Linked DNA regions of Homo sapiens: all the other regions are linked to region 4. The links are contacts of gene promoters, found by promoter capture Hi-C in blood cells and fetal thymus (Javierre and others, 2016). All regions are on one chromosome and are shown on one strand. Each heading gives the region's core, a stretch centred on a gene start or on the middle of the fragment in contact. The rest is flanking DNA. Distances are from core to core; before and after follow the strand shown. Region 1 overlaps CRTC3 (CREB regulated transcription coactivator 3). Region 2 has its middle 22 kb from the start of CRTC3. Region 3 overlaps IQGAP1 (IQ motif containing GTPase activating protein 1). Region 4 holds the start of ZNF774 (zinc finger protein 774).

Region 1 (3,241 bases), core at 540-3,039, 200 kb before region 4:
ACTCAAAAAAAAAAAAAAAGAGGAAACACCTCTAATGTGCTTGCCTTGTGCCAACCACTGTTCTAAGGGTGTTATGTATAACAACTCATTTATTCTTCTCCACAAAACTCTGATATTGGCATTAGAACTATGCCCATTTTACAGGTGAGAAAAATGAGGCAAAGACATGCTAAGTGGTTTGCCCAAGGTCACACAGCTAGAAAGTGGCAGAGGCCACATTTGGATTCAGAGTATGACCCTTTTGCCCATCACACTATGCAGCCTCTGTACTGCCCTAAAGCTTCTGCCATAATATTTTAAGGCAAAGTATATGTTGTCACTTTAGTACTTGTCGTATTTCTTTTCAAGTAGATCATTGGTTTTATCCCATGGATAGACTTCTCAGGAAACATTCCCATCTCTTCCAACTTTACTGGCATGAAAATTTTCGATTAATGGAATCTGATTCAGTCTTTTAAAACATTACTTGGAGGGGTATTTTAAAGATCTCAAGTATCCATGCTATTGCTGCCCCTCCACTGCATGAACAATTGAGAGCACGTAGGAGGCAGAATGAAAATGGCAATATTCCAGTTCTCTTGCTCAAGTTCTCATGGGTACAGATGTTCCTAATTCAGTGTGTGGGACCAACGTTTCCCCGCCCCTTCTATAATTTCAAACAAAGGCTTTATCCCAGATGATTAGAGATTCATGAGTTATCTACTTTTCTCTCTCATTCTATAAGTCTTCTATTCAACATGTACGGCTAGATAAAAAGGAAGGGAAAAATGATTCGAATATGGATTAAAAATACGACAACCATATTCTTGGTCACAGCTCCTATTTCGGGACAGATGCACATTCCAAAACTATTAAGTAACCCCCTAACTCTCTGTGCTTCTCACTATTTCCTTAGGCAGAATAGAAGGACATGCTGCTGGAAGTCAAAATCAAAGGCAAACCAGTGAGCACATCACACACAGACACAGTACAAAAATCAGAGTTGCAAAGTGCATGTAGTTCAGGAGGTACGAACTCTTAAAAAGAATTCAGACAAGGTCAGAAAAATGTCAATCTCTGAAAAAGAAAATAAGAAACAACATAAAATAGATGATATTAGTAATCAGTGAACATCTTTCCCGGAAATAATTCATGCTAAAATAATTTATAAATGTGGCCTTCTAAATCTCATGCAGAAGCCCAAGGTCACTGCCCTGCCTCATTACATCTAACAGTATTTGGATAAAAGCAGATTGTCTCAGGGCTGGCAGAGAGCATGCTGTACCAAGAGTAGGGCTGGCTAAGGGAAAAAAATATAACATTATAACCTTGGGAACAAAATTCCCTCTCACATTTAAGTTCTGAGCAAAGAACTATGCCACAAACTATGAAGAATGACTACACATGATCAGAATTTAGTTAGATGCTTGGGAAGGAATCAGTTTTCTTTACACCCCAGTTCCCTTAACACAATCCAGCTCCAAAACCCCCTTGGTCAAGGCCTCATGCCTCCCCTTAGCTCAGTTTATCCTATGGATAATTACTATTATAATCCCCACTTCACATACAAAAAACTAGACTGAGATAGTTGAGGAAATGCCCAAATCATAGATTAAAAGAGTGGCAGAACCAGGACTCAAACCAGGTTTGCCTGCTGCCCGAGTCATCTTTATCACACCACAGCTCATCCTAGGGAGTACGAAAGGAAGCAGAGTTTCCACAAGTCACTGCCCATACTCCAGGAGACAAAAGAACTAGATGAGGGGTGATCAGGAATAATGAGCAGCTGGGAGCTGACCACAGAAACAGAGACAGAATTTCTGAAGACCATTAGATGACACAAGAAGCTACTTTGAGATCTCTGTGGAGACTCTCTGATCTGTGACTCAAGACAGAACCATTTTGGAATAGTCTCTGAGATTCCAAGGTCATTTGTGGCTTAAGGCAGAGCAGCCTTCTTCACCGAGGGGCAGTGGCCAGATGCCGGCTGCTCGGGCCGCAGTACTGGACACAGAGTTGATGGTGTTAAACGAGGACTAACTGGGCTGCTGACTTCTGTGGAAGGGCCAATTTCTTCGTTTCTATGTGTCCTGTGCCTAATACAGACCTGCTGCCACAGCAGGCGCTCGGGAAACATTTGCCAATTCAATTATTTATTAATCAATTAATGAAGAGTGAAAAAGAAAAGTAGTTAACACCACTCTTGGAGTAGGGACGGAGCAGGAGACCACGACACCCAACACCTTCACAGGGTCAGTCTGTTCCTTTAGAAGACATTTGTGTGTGTGTGTGTGTGTGTGTGCGTGTGTGTGTGTGCGTGTGTGTAATGTAATGTAATGTAAGGGCGCGCCTTACCACACACCCTTTCAGAGGAACCGCCACATTTTACAGTGAGAAATTCTACCAAGCGGAGATCTGATTTTGGGGGCATCCTTTTTTGAAATGCTTGTACTCAGAGCAGTTAAGTGGAGGTTCAAAGTTTTTGATATGAACTTAATCAGGGTGCTTTGCTTACCACTAAAAGAAACACTTCAACCAAGGCATAGAAATCTGATTGGCTGATAAAGACGAGCAGGGAAGGGAAGATCACCTTAAAGCCCTGGGCTCTTAAGGGAAGGTGAGGACTTAATCCGGTGCTGAAACTGGGACCTAGAACGCAGCATTAGAATGCCTACCTCCTCCAAGAACTCTCCCACTTCTCAAAATAGGGGGCAGTGCTGTCCAGTTCGGTGGCCACCAGCCACATGTGCCTCCTGAGCACTTGAAATGTGGCTTAATGCAACCAAGGAACTGAATTTTTAATTGTATTTAATCTTAATTAAATACAATTAATTAATGGAAATAGCCACAAATGACTAGTGACTAACATATTGGACAGCAGCGGTGAGGGGGAGACAGTAAGAAGCACAGAAAAAAAGAGGTAGAAAGTGATAAAGACAAACTTCCTACTTCACAATTGTTCCTAAGCACGATTTGTATTACTATACTACTGACTTTTGCTTAGTACTTTAGTTTCCAGAGATATGCATTTATTCCGCATTCATTAGATCCTTATGAACAACTCTATCAAGTAACCGTCATTATCATCACTTCTAGATGAGTCAGAGAATTCTGTGATTTACCTAAGGAGACTCAGTCGGGAGGAGTCTAATTATGTAACCCCAACACTGTCCAGATGGCATGAAGAAACTTCACCTCTTCCTTTCAGAAAAAGGAAGTAGAGGACAGATCGGTGCTTTGTTCATCTCATTGTTCTGCCCTA
Region 2 (3,341 bases), core at 396-2,895, 160 kb before region 4:
GTATTTTATATTAAAAAATTGTTTTGTCATAAACTCACGAAGTGTTTTTCTCTTTTAAAAATTTTCCATTGAAAAAGCTTAGGCTGGATGTGGTGGCTCATGCCTGTAATCCCAGAACTTTAGGAGGCCGAGGAGGGCGGATCACCTGAGGTGGGGAGTTCGAGACCAGCCTGACCAACATGGAGAAACCCCCATCTCTACTAAAAAAAAAAAAAAAAATTAGCCGGCCGTGATGGCGCATGTCTGTAATCCCAGCTACTCGGGATTGCTTGAACCCGGGAGGTGGAGGTTGCTGTGAGTCGAGATCGTGCCATTGCACTCCAGCTGTGGGCAACAAGAGTGAAACTCTGTCTCAAAAATAAATAAATAAATAAATAAATAAATAAATAAAAATTTAAAAAAAGAAGAAAAAGCTAGAGGCCAGGTGCAGTGGCTCACGGCTATAATCCCAGCAATCCCAAGATCATCTGAGGTCAGGAGTTTGAGACCAGCCTGGCCAACATGGTGAAACCCCATCTCTACTAAAAATACAAAATTAGCTGGGCTTGGTGGCACATGCCTGTATCCCAGTTACTCGGGTGGCTGAGGCAGGAGAAATCACCTGAACTTGGGAGGCAGAGGTTGCAGTGAGCTGAGATCGTGCCATTGTACTCCAGCCTGGAAGACAGAGTGAGACTCCATCTCAAGAAAAAAAAGAATTTTTATGAATATGTATATCGATATACATACAGTGGATTGAAAGACATGGAATATATTAAAAAGCCAGGGGTTCATTATGATTTTTGAAAAACAAAGGCTCCCTGGTCATTTAGAGCCCACTAGGGAAGCAGCTTATTCTGAAAACTAGTAAACAAAGGGAGAGAATCAAGCACTCATCATCTGTTCCTGAATGAATGTTCTACAAGGCAACAAAATAGTTGAAGAGAGGAAGTTTTTTTTTTTTTAAGGAGAATTCTGTTAAATAAAGAAGGAATGATATTAATAGCATATCACCATTTTGCAACCCCCAATGAAATAAGAGGCTGGGCATGGTGGTTCACGCCTGTAATCCCAGGACCTTGGGAGGCCAAGGCAGGAGGACCACTTGAGCACAGGAGTCTGAGACTAGCCTGGGCAACATAGTGAGACTTCGTCTCTAAAAAAAGTGAAAAAATACTAAAAAAAATAGGCCAGGTGCAGTGGCTTATGCCTGTAATCCCAGCACTTTGGGAGGCTAAGTCGGGCGGATCATGAGGTCAAGAGATTGAAACCATCCTGGCCAATGTGGTGAAACCCTGTTTCTAATAAAAATACAAAAAATTAGCTGGGCATGGTGGCACGTGCCTGTAGTTCCAGCTACTCAGGAGGCTGAGGCAGGAGGATCACTTGAACCTGCCTCTTAGCTGAGCTCATGCCACTGCACTCCAGCCTGGCAACAGAGCAAGACTTTGTCTCAAAAAAAAAAAAAAAAAAAAAAAAGTAAAATAAATAAATAAATAAATGTAGGCAGCCATTACCAGTGGCTGCTGAATCCATGTGATACGTGGTGAAAGCCGATGGGAAATTATAATGAATGGGTCAAGCTGGCAACATCTGAATCCAAAGATCAGCCTTTACATCATAAAAACATAAGCCCTGACATGATGTAATAGGAAAACCAAAGTATTCTTGCCACAAGATTGAAACTGAGTCTGATCCACAGGATGACATGAGAAACCCAGAATGTGATTCTACAGGATTAGCATCAAATACATTGCAAGGAAAAAAAAAAAAAAGGCTGGGTGCGGTGGCTCACTCCCATAAACCCAACACTTTGGGAGGCTGAGGCAGGGAGATCACTTGAGGTCAGGAGTTTGAGATCAGCCTGGACAACTTAGTGAAACCCCATATCTACTAAAAAATACAAAAATTAGCTGGACATGGCGGCACATGCCTGTATCCCAGCTACTGAGGAGTCTGAGGCAGAGAAACTGCTTGAACCCAAGAGGTGGAAGTAGCAGTGGGCCAAGATCACGCCACTGAACTCCAGCCTGGGTGACAGAACGATACCCTGTCTCTAGAAAAAAAAAAAAAAAAAAAGGACACAATGACCAATCTAACGGTGAGGAACACCCCTAGCACCCACCCAGACTGCATCCTTGAAATACCATTACCCGCTAACAGTAACCAGGGCTCCACAGAAAAATGGTGGATTCCAGGTCTGGGGCTGAGAAATGCAATAAGATGAGCCTGGAACGTCTTATGCTAGAAATCAAGGAAACTATCAAAGATTACTAGGGTCACGTCAAAAGTACTCAACAGTCACTGTGAAGGAAATTTATTGGTCAAAGAGGGGACAATTTGAGCATTCAAAAAATTATATATGGCCGGGCGTGGTGGCTCACACCTGTAAAATCCCAGCACTTTGGGAGGCCGAGGCAGGCGGATCATTTGAGGTCAGGAATTTGAGACCAGCTTGGCCAATATGGCAAAACCCCGTCTGTACTAAAAATAATAAAAAATTAGCCGGGTGTGGTGGCAGTCACCTGTAATCCCAGGTACTCGGGAGGCTGAGGCAGGAGAATCACTTGAACCTGGGAGGCTGAGGTTGCAGTGAGCTGAGATCAAGCCACTGCCCTCCAGCCTGGGCAACAGAGTGAGATTCTGTCTCAAAAAAAAAAAGAAAAGGAAAAGATATTTAAGAGACCTATCAACTAAATGTAATGCATGGATCTTGTCTGGCACCTGATTCAAAAATACAAACTGAACAATGATAAGATGAATGGGGAAATTTAAACGGTGATATTTTAAAATTTAAAAATTTAAATTAAAAATGTAAATGGTGATATTTAAACGGTGTGATATTTTAAAATAATTTGATATTTTAAAATAATTTGTTAGGTGTGATGATGGGATGGGGATTTTTTTTAAGTCCTTATCTGTAAGAGCAGCGTCTCACCCCAGGCATTATTAATATTTGAGGCTGGATCATTCTTGGTTGCAGTGGGCTGTCCTGTTGCACTGAAAGATGTCAAGTGGCATCCCTCACCTCTACCCACTAGATGCCAGTAGCACCTCTTTCGTCAGGCCAATTAAAAATATTTCCAAACAGCCAAATATCTTCTGTGATTAAAAAAAAAAAAAACTGTGTTAGAGACATGTACTGCAGTATTTATGGTTGAAATGATACTATACCTGGGTTTTGTCAAAGTAACCCAAGAGGGTTTGGGCAGAGGTACAGGTGAAATAAGCTTAACTGTGTGTTGATAATTGCTGGGCTGCATGATGGACACATGGGTGCTCATTACATTATTCCCCGTTTATATGTTGAAAGTTCCCTGCAATAAAAGTTAAAAAATTATAGTACCAAAGGAGTATTAAAA
Region 3 (3,254 bases), core at 515-3,014, 140 kb before region 4:
AACTGGGCTAGGCGCGGTGGCTCATGCCTGTAATCCCAGCACTTTGGGAGGCCAAGGTAGGCGGATCATGAGGTCAGGAGTTCAAGACCATCCTGACTAACACGGTGAAACCGTCTCTACTAAAAGTACAAAAACAAAATTAGCCGAGCATGGGGCGAGTGCCTGTAGTCCCAGCTACTCAGGAGGCTGAGGCAGGAGAATGGCGTGAACCCAGGAGGTGGAGCTTGCAGTGAGCCAAGATCGCGCCACTGCACTCCAGTCTGGGCGACAGAGCGAGACTCCGTCTCAAAAAAACAAAAAACAAGCAAACAAACAAATCACACAACTGCTTAGGTGCTTAGGGCTTCTTTCCTGGACTCCAGGTACAATCACCGAGACTGGACTCTACTGGCTACAAAGTCATTTTTCTCTACCACATTTTGAGACATGGAAGCCATTTAATTTTATTAAAAACATAGCTGTATAAATGTTATAACTATACTAATACAACAAGACCAGTGCTTAGTAAATCCTTGCTAATTCTTTGTGTCACTTTGTCACAAGGTGGAATCATGCTCGAGCCTTGCCTCTGCTTTCAAACATTCTGCAGACACCACAATCTAACAGGGAAACACCTTCCCTTGATACTGCCATCCTTCATAGTCGCCATCCTTCATAGTCACCGTCCATTGTCTGTCCCTGTCCAACATATGATCTACACTCACTGTTTCGTTCTTTCAGCACTTTCTTCTTTACTGCTCTTATCACCAATTACCATTCCCCTGTCCAAAATCCAAAGCCTTTTCTGTCACCTTGCTCATCTTCTCTGCACTGTCTTCTTGCTCTATGCATGGTTTGGTACTTCTATGTGATCTGTGACCATTTCTCTCTGTTTACTCTCAATACTTCATTGACTGCCTCTGTGTTGACAGATCCTAAATCTTTGTGACCATGGCTCTGGTGCCATATTCTGAGCTGTTTGTACTGGGATGTTTACATTCGGGATGGCTCATAGTTCAAACTTGTAATTCCCCCTAACTGGAGCAATTCCCTTTCCCAATAGTCCCCTTTTTTCTAATGTCAAGACTACTCTGCATCACATAATGTAAACAGCATAAGCTTTGGAGGCAGACAGAACTGGATCCACCTCCGGTTCTGTCACTGCAAGCTGATGATCTTAGCCAGTTAACCTGTAAGGGTCTTGGTTTCCTCATCTGCAAAATAAGGATGAAAAGACTCGACTCATGGGAATATTGTAAGGATTAAATTAAAGAACAGAGGTGAGAGCACCAAACACATACTAGGTTCTCAATAAAGACTGGCTCCTCCTTCCTTATTTCAAATTTCTTTCTAGGTTCAACATGTTTCAAGTATTGGTTTACATGTCCTTACTTGCCTTTCACACATATCTAATCAGTAATCAGTCATAGCAACTGACAGCTGAGACTTCATTGAAAACAATGGTTTCCAAATAGTTCTCTGTGCAGCCTCAAGAGTTTGCCAGAGGCATCACAGAGTCCTATAGGGCTGGATTTCAGATGCCCTATTGCTGGCTATCAGAGTAGCTCCAGAGTAGCAGAGTACCTGCTCTATATACTGGGCTTTTAGCTAAGTTGTCATTTAATGAAACAGATTACCATGCTTAAAATTTGAGAATGAATGACTTGACCTACTTTCCTTACTTGACAAATGAGAACAGAGGTCTATGGCCGGGTGCAGTGGCTCACACCTGTAATCCCAGCACTTTGAGAGGCCACAGTGGGTGGGTCATTTGAGGTCAAGAGTTTGAGACCAGCCTGGCCAACATCGTGAAATCCTGTCTCTACTAAAAATACAAAAATTAGCCAGGTGTGGTGGTTCACACCTGTAGTCCAGCTACTCGGGAGGCTGAGGCAGGAGAATCGCTTGAACCCAGGAGGCGGAGGTTGCAGTGAGCCAAGATCACGCCACTGCAGTCCAGCCTGAGTGAGAGTGAGACTCTGTCTCAAATTAAAAAAAAAAAAAAAAAAGAAACAAGGGTCTTAGATATGACATGACTCATCCAACCCTACAAAATGCCAGGACCCAACCATCTGCCCACCCCACTGGACCTTATCACACACCTATATGACTCAACTACATCTGCTCTAATAGCACTGCTGAATTAATTAACTTTTATTAAATGGTCTTCAACCTTACAGAGGCTCTTTATTCCTTATCTCTGCAGTGACAAATTCCCATCTAGTTTGTGAGTTCTAAATAATTTGGTCTCATGTTTTATTTCTCACTACTCACCTCCACCCACAGCTCCATTCTAGACATGTAGTCTAGTCGCATCATGCTCTTCCCTCCTTTGTACCTTTGTTCACATCGCTCTCCTGCCTCGAATGCCCTCTCTTGTCTTACATGCACACCCAAATCCTTTCCACCTTTATACATCTGGCTCCGGTTCCACTTCTTTTAGGAAGCTTCCTAATGCACTGCTTCACTGGCCTCTTTCCTGAAACTTCTCTTATTTTTCAGTCAGTAACATAGTTAATTTTGAAACAGTTCATCACTGTTTCAGGTATATATGTCACATTTCCCCAACAAGACCATGGGTTCACTGAGTTTAGGAGCCACATTCTGTACTTTTCTTCTATCTACCAAGGCATGTAACAGAATTCAAAATATATAATATTCAATAAATTGCAGTGAACCCTACACATTCATGGTTTCAACCAACCCTGAAACTGTTTGAAAAAAAAATACAACAATACAAAATAATACAAATTTTAAAAATACAGTAACAACTATTTACACAGCATTTATATTGTAGTAGGTATTATAAGTAGTCTAGAGATGATTTAAAGTATATGGGAGAACGTAAGTATATGCAAATACTACAACATTTTATTTATTTATTTATTTATTTATTTATTTATTATTATTTTTTGAGACGGAGTCTCGCTCTGTCGCCCAGGCTGGAGTGCAGTGGTGCGATCTTGGCTCAATGCAGGCTCCGCCTCCTGGGTACATGCCATTCTCCTGCCTCAGCCTCCCAAGTAGCTGGGACTACAGGCATCTACCACCTAGCCTGGCTAATTTTTTGTATTTTTAGTAGAGACGGGGTTTCACGTGTTAGCCAGGATGGTCACAATCTCCTGACCTCGTGAACTACCCACCTCAGCCTCCCAAAGTGCTGGGATTACAGGCATGAGCCACCATGCCCGGCCAAATACTACACCATTTTATATAAGGGACTTCAACATCTATGGATTTTGGTATTGGCCGGGGGTGGGGAGAATGGGTGCTGG
Region 4 (3,342 bases), core at 63-2,562:
ATGCAGCCAGCATGACCACCCACTACAAAGAATATTGCATTTCAAGGGAGGAAGGACCAGACTGTGGTGAAGAAGTTTTACTCTTTCACATCTTTTGTCCCACTACAAATCACCTATTTACTACTGGAACACACACACACACACACACACACACACACACACACACACACTTTTGGGGGAAATATTTTTGTATTTACAGACATTATTATTGGTCATTTATAAAGTATTGAGTTTTTAAGGATCTAAAAACCATCTCTCTGGTTTAAAACTTTAACAAACAACAATAATGTAATTAGAAAGTAAAAATTGTAATAAGAGTTTTCAGTATTGGCCAGGTGCTGTGGCTCATGACTGTAATCCCAGCACTTTGGGAAGACGAGACGGGCGGATCACCTGGGGTCAGGAGTTCGAGATCAGCCTGGCCAACATGGTGAAACCCTGTCTCTACTAAGAATACAAAATTAGCCGGGTGTGGTGGCACACGCCTGTAATCCCAACTACTTGGGAGGCTGAGGCAGGAGAATCGCCTGAACCCGGGAGGTGGAGACTGCAGTGAAAGGAGATAGCGCCATTGCATTCCAGCCTGGGCAACAAGAGCGAAATTCCGTCTAAAAAAAAAAAAGAGTTTTGAGTATAATTTTTATTTCTACATTCATTACAAAACACAGCTGCAGGGCCCACTTGCTGGAGACAGCGCCACTGAGGAGGGGAGACGTCTTAGCCACGGTTATAGAAACCCTGTTTCCCAGCCCGTCCCTTTCCCCATGCACAGGTGACCTCAAAGGCCCCACAGCGCTGAGGGGCTGTGACTAAGTGCCACTGTGAGAAGCTCCAGTGCGTTCACCGGGTTTATTAATAGGAACATGACTGCACGCGTGGGGCCGAACCCCGTTCTTCTTCTCGGTGCTCGCGCCCTAACCGGGGTGCGGCGGTCAGAGGGTCACAGATCAGCTGAAACCCTGGGACCACCATCGAGAAGCAAGAAAACTGATTAAGAGAATGACTTATCCCGCCGACGGTATAGAGACCACAGCTACCTCTCCCACAGCCCAGCAAGACCCGGGGGCTCCCAAAGGCCAGCGCGGGAACCCCGCTGAGAAAACGTCTGGGTGGCGGGCAAGCCCCCTCCACGCCCCTCAGCAGCGCGCCGCTGCCGCCGCGGTCTCCCTCCTTGAATCACTCACCGCCCCAGGGCCCAGCCGGGGATGGAGCAGGAAGTGAGTCCTCCACCGCCGAGCCGCACCCGGCCCGCAACCCCGAGGCTGTGCCTCCCAGAACCCGACCGGGATTCGTGACAGGGCTGTGGGGACACAGGTGGGACTCCGGCTTCGACAGCCAGCGGCCGGAAAGTACCGCCCCCATCCTCTTGCTATTGGCTTTTCAGTTTCCATGGCTAGAATTTTTCTCTGTCCATAGGCTGATAGAGCTGTCAATTATCGCCTAGCCTTCTGGGAAACGTAGTCCCGAGCAAGACCTCAAAGGACTCGGAGCCGTGGATGTCCAGTTCCAAGCGTTGGAAAGTGCTAAACCCAATTCCCCAGCTACCGGTCCCCCGGAACCGCCTGTTTGGAGCCGAGGGATCTAAATGCTGTATCCTCACTGTGGCATCTGCAGATGTGAATCTCCTGGCCTCACCCACCTACCGCGGAGCAGCCTGGTGCCCACCATGAGGTCTCCCGCGCTCTGGCACTTCGCCCCTCCCCAGCGCAGAGCAGCTCAGCCCTCGGGCCTTTGCGGCCTCTCTTCTGCCCAGTCTTCCACCTCATCCCCGGCGGCCGGAGCCTGCAGGGTGTTTGCGGAGGCCAGGTCCCAGACCAACTCAAACTGGACATTGGAAAGGCCCAGCAGAAGCCCTTAGTAGAAAACAGACATTCCGCATCCTTCCCTTGGCATCAAACTCCCAGGCACATCCCCTTTCCGTCTGGTTGATAGCCAGAGGAGGCGGGCGAGGGCATCAAGTATTCTGGGAAATGTGATATCGGGCTTCAAACTGGGGAGGCTCCTGGGTCTCATGTGAGAGCCAGTGATCACTTTGGGTCGGCCCCTAGCTAAAAAACAACAAAGTCTTTCCTTAAAGTGAAGAAAATGTGCCTGTCTACTCCGTTTGTTGATTCAGTGCAATTTAGAAAAATAAAAGAACATTTTGTGATGTATTATAAAACGCTTAGAATTACCAGCCATAGAGTTTTTTTTTTTTTTTTTTTTTAGACGGAGTCTCGCTCTGTCGCCCAGGCTAGAGTGCAGTGGCACGATCTCGGCTCACTGCGAGTTCTGCCTCCCAGGTTCACACCATTCTCCTGCCTTAGCCTCCCGAGTAGCTGGGACTACAGGCGCCCGCCACCACACCCGGCTAATTTTTTGTATTTTTAGTAGAGACGGGGTTTCACCATGTTAGCCAGGATGATCTCCATCTCCTGACCTCGTGATCCGCCCGCCTCGGCTTCCTAAAGTGCTGGGATTACAGGCGTGAGCCACCGTGCCCGGCCCGAGTTAATGTTGAAGATCCCTTTGATGCTAATTCCACCATTCCTTCAACAAAAATAAGGTGCATTTTCCAGTGGATATTTATTGGGAACATTCTGTTCTCAAGATCGTTCTGGGGGCAGGGCGTGGTGGCTCACGCCTGTAATCCCAGCACTTTGGGAGGCCGAGGCGGGAGGATCACGAGGTCAGGAGATCGAGACCATCCTGGCTAACATGGTGAAACCCCGTCTCTACTAAATATAGAAAAAATTAGCCGGGCGTGGTGGCGGGCGCCTGTAGTCCCAGCTACTCGGGAGGCTGAGGCAGGAGAATGATGTGAACCCGGGAGGTGGAGCTTGCAGTGAGCCGAGATCGCGCCACTGGACTCCATCCTGAGCGACAGAGCAAGACTCCGTCTCAAAAAAGAAAAAAAGAAAGAAAAAAAAAAAAGATCGTTCTGGGAACTGTGATTACTCGGGAATCATACATAACCATTACCTTCATGAAGTTCACAGGCCAAAAGGGGAAATAAACCATAAAAGGTATCAAAATCCTAAGTAATTTTTTTTTCCATATAGCCAGTGGCATCTTAGTTATTTTGCTACACAATTATAGTCATCTGCAAGGTAACTACATTGCATTTTCGGAAACTCTGTCGACTATGAACAAATGTCTGGTTAGCAGAGGTAGTTAGACGTAGTTAGATTTAGTTAGACGAAATTGAGGAAAATGGAAATCTCAGAGGAGGTCAGTAACAAAGTAACACCCAGGAAACCTAGGGATTGCCAGTCCTCCTGTAACTGGAACAGAGTTCAGGACCTGGAGAACCGAAGGCATCTTCAGACCCCTCGGTAAGTCTTTCTAGCATTTTGCCATTAA

What was found. The method cuts DNA at HindIII sites, captures the fragments that hold promoters and counts their contacts. A CHiCAGO score of 5 or more calls a contact.
Region 1: a fragment that was not itself captured here is called in contact with the fragment with the promoter of ZNF774 in region 4 in 1 of 17 cell types (monocytes); the score reaches 5.1 in monocytes.
Region 2: a contact is called between a fragment that was not itself captured here and the fragment with the promoter of ZNF774 in region 4, in 1 of 17 cell types (endothelial precursors). The highest score is 6.3, in endothelial precursors.
Region 3: a contact is called between a fragment that was not itself captured here and the fragment with the promoter of ZNF774 in region 4, in 13 of 17 cell types (endothelial precursors, naive CD8 T cells, megakaryocytes and 10 more). The highest score is 12.5, in endothelial precursors.

Annotation. Positions count from the first base shown.
Region 1 is chr15:90,550,985-90,554,225 of GRCh38, reverse strand. The region is part of intron 2 of CRTC3 (CREB regulated transcription coactivator 3); the gene reads right to left. Among named protein-coding and RNA genes, the nearest start is that of CRTC3, 23 kb to the right of the region's middle. The HindIII fragment of the contact is 3,014 bases long and covers 283-3,241 here.
Region 2 is chr15:90,506,384-90,509,724 of GRCh38, reverse strand. No RefSeq gene overlaps it. Among named protein-coding and RNA genes, the nearest start is that of CRTC3, 22 kb to the left of the region's middle. The HindIII fragment of the contact is 3,132 bases long and covers 80-3,211 here.
Region 3 is chr15:90,487,860-90,491,113 of GRCh38, reverse strand. The region is part of intron 33 of IQGAP1 (IQ motif containing GTPase activating protein 1); the gene reads right to left. Among named protein-coding and RNA genes, the nearest start is that of CRTC3, 40 kb to the left of the region's middle. The HindIII fragment of the contact is 1,328 bases long and covers 1,101-2,428 here.
Region 4 is chr15:90,350,254-90,353,595 of GRCh38, reverse strand. ZNF774 (zinc finger protein 774) reads right to left here and starts at 1,312. Exons shown (of 4, transcript NM_001004309.3): 1 at 1,185-1,312. The HindIII fragment of the contact is 4,226 bases long and covers 1-3,342 here.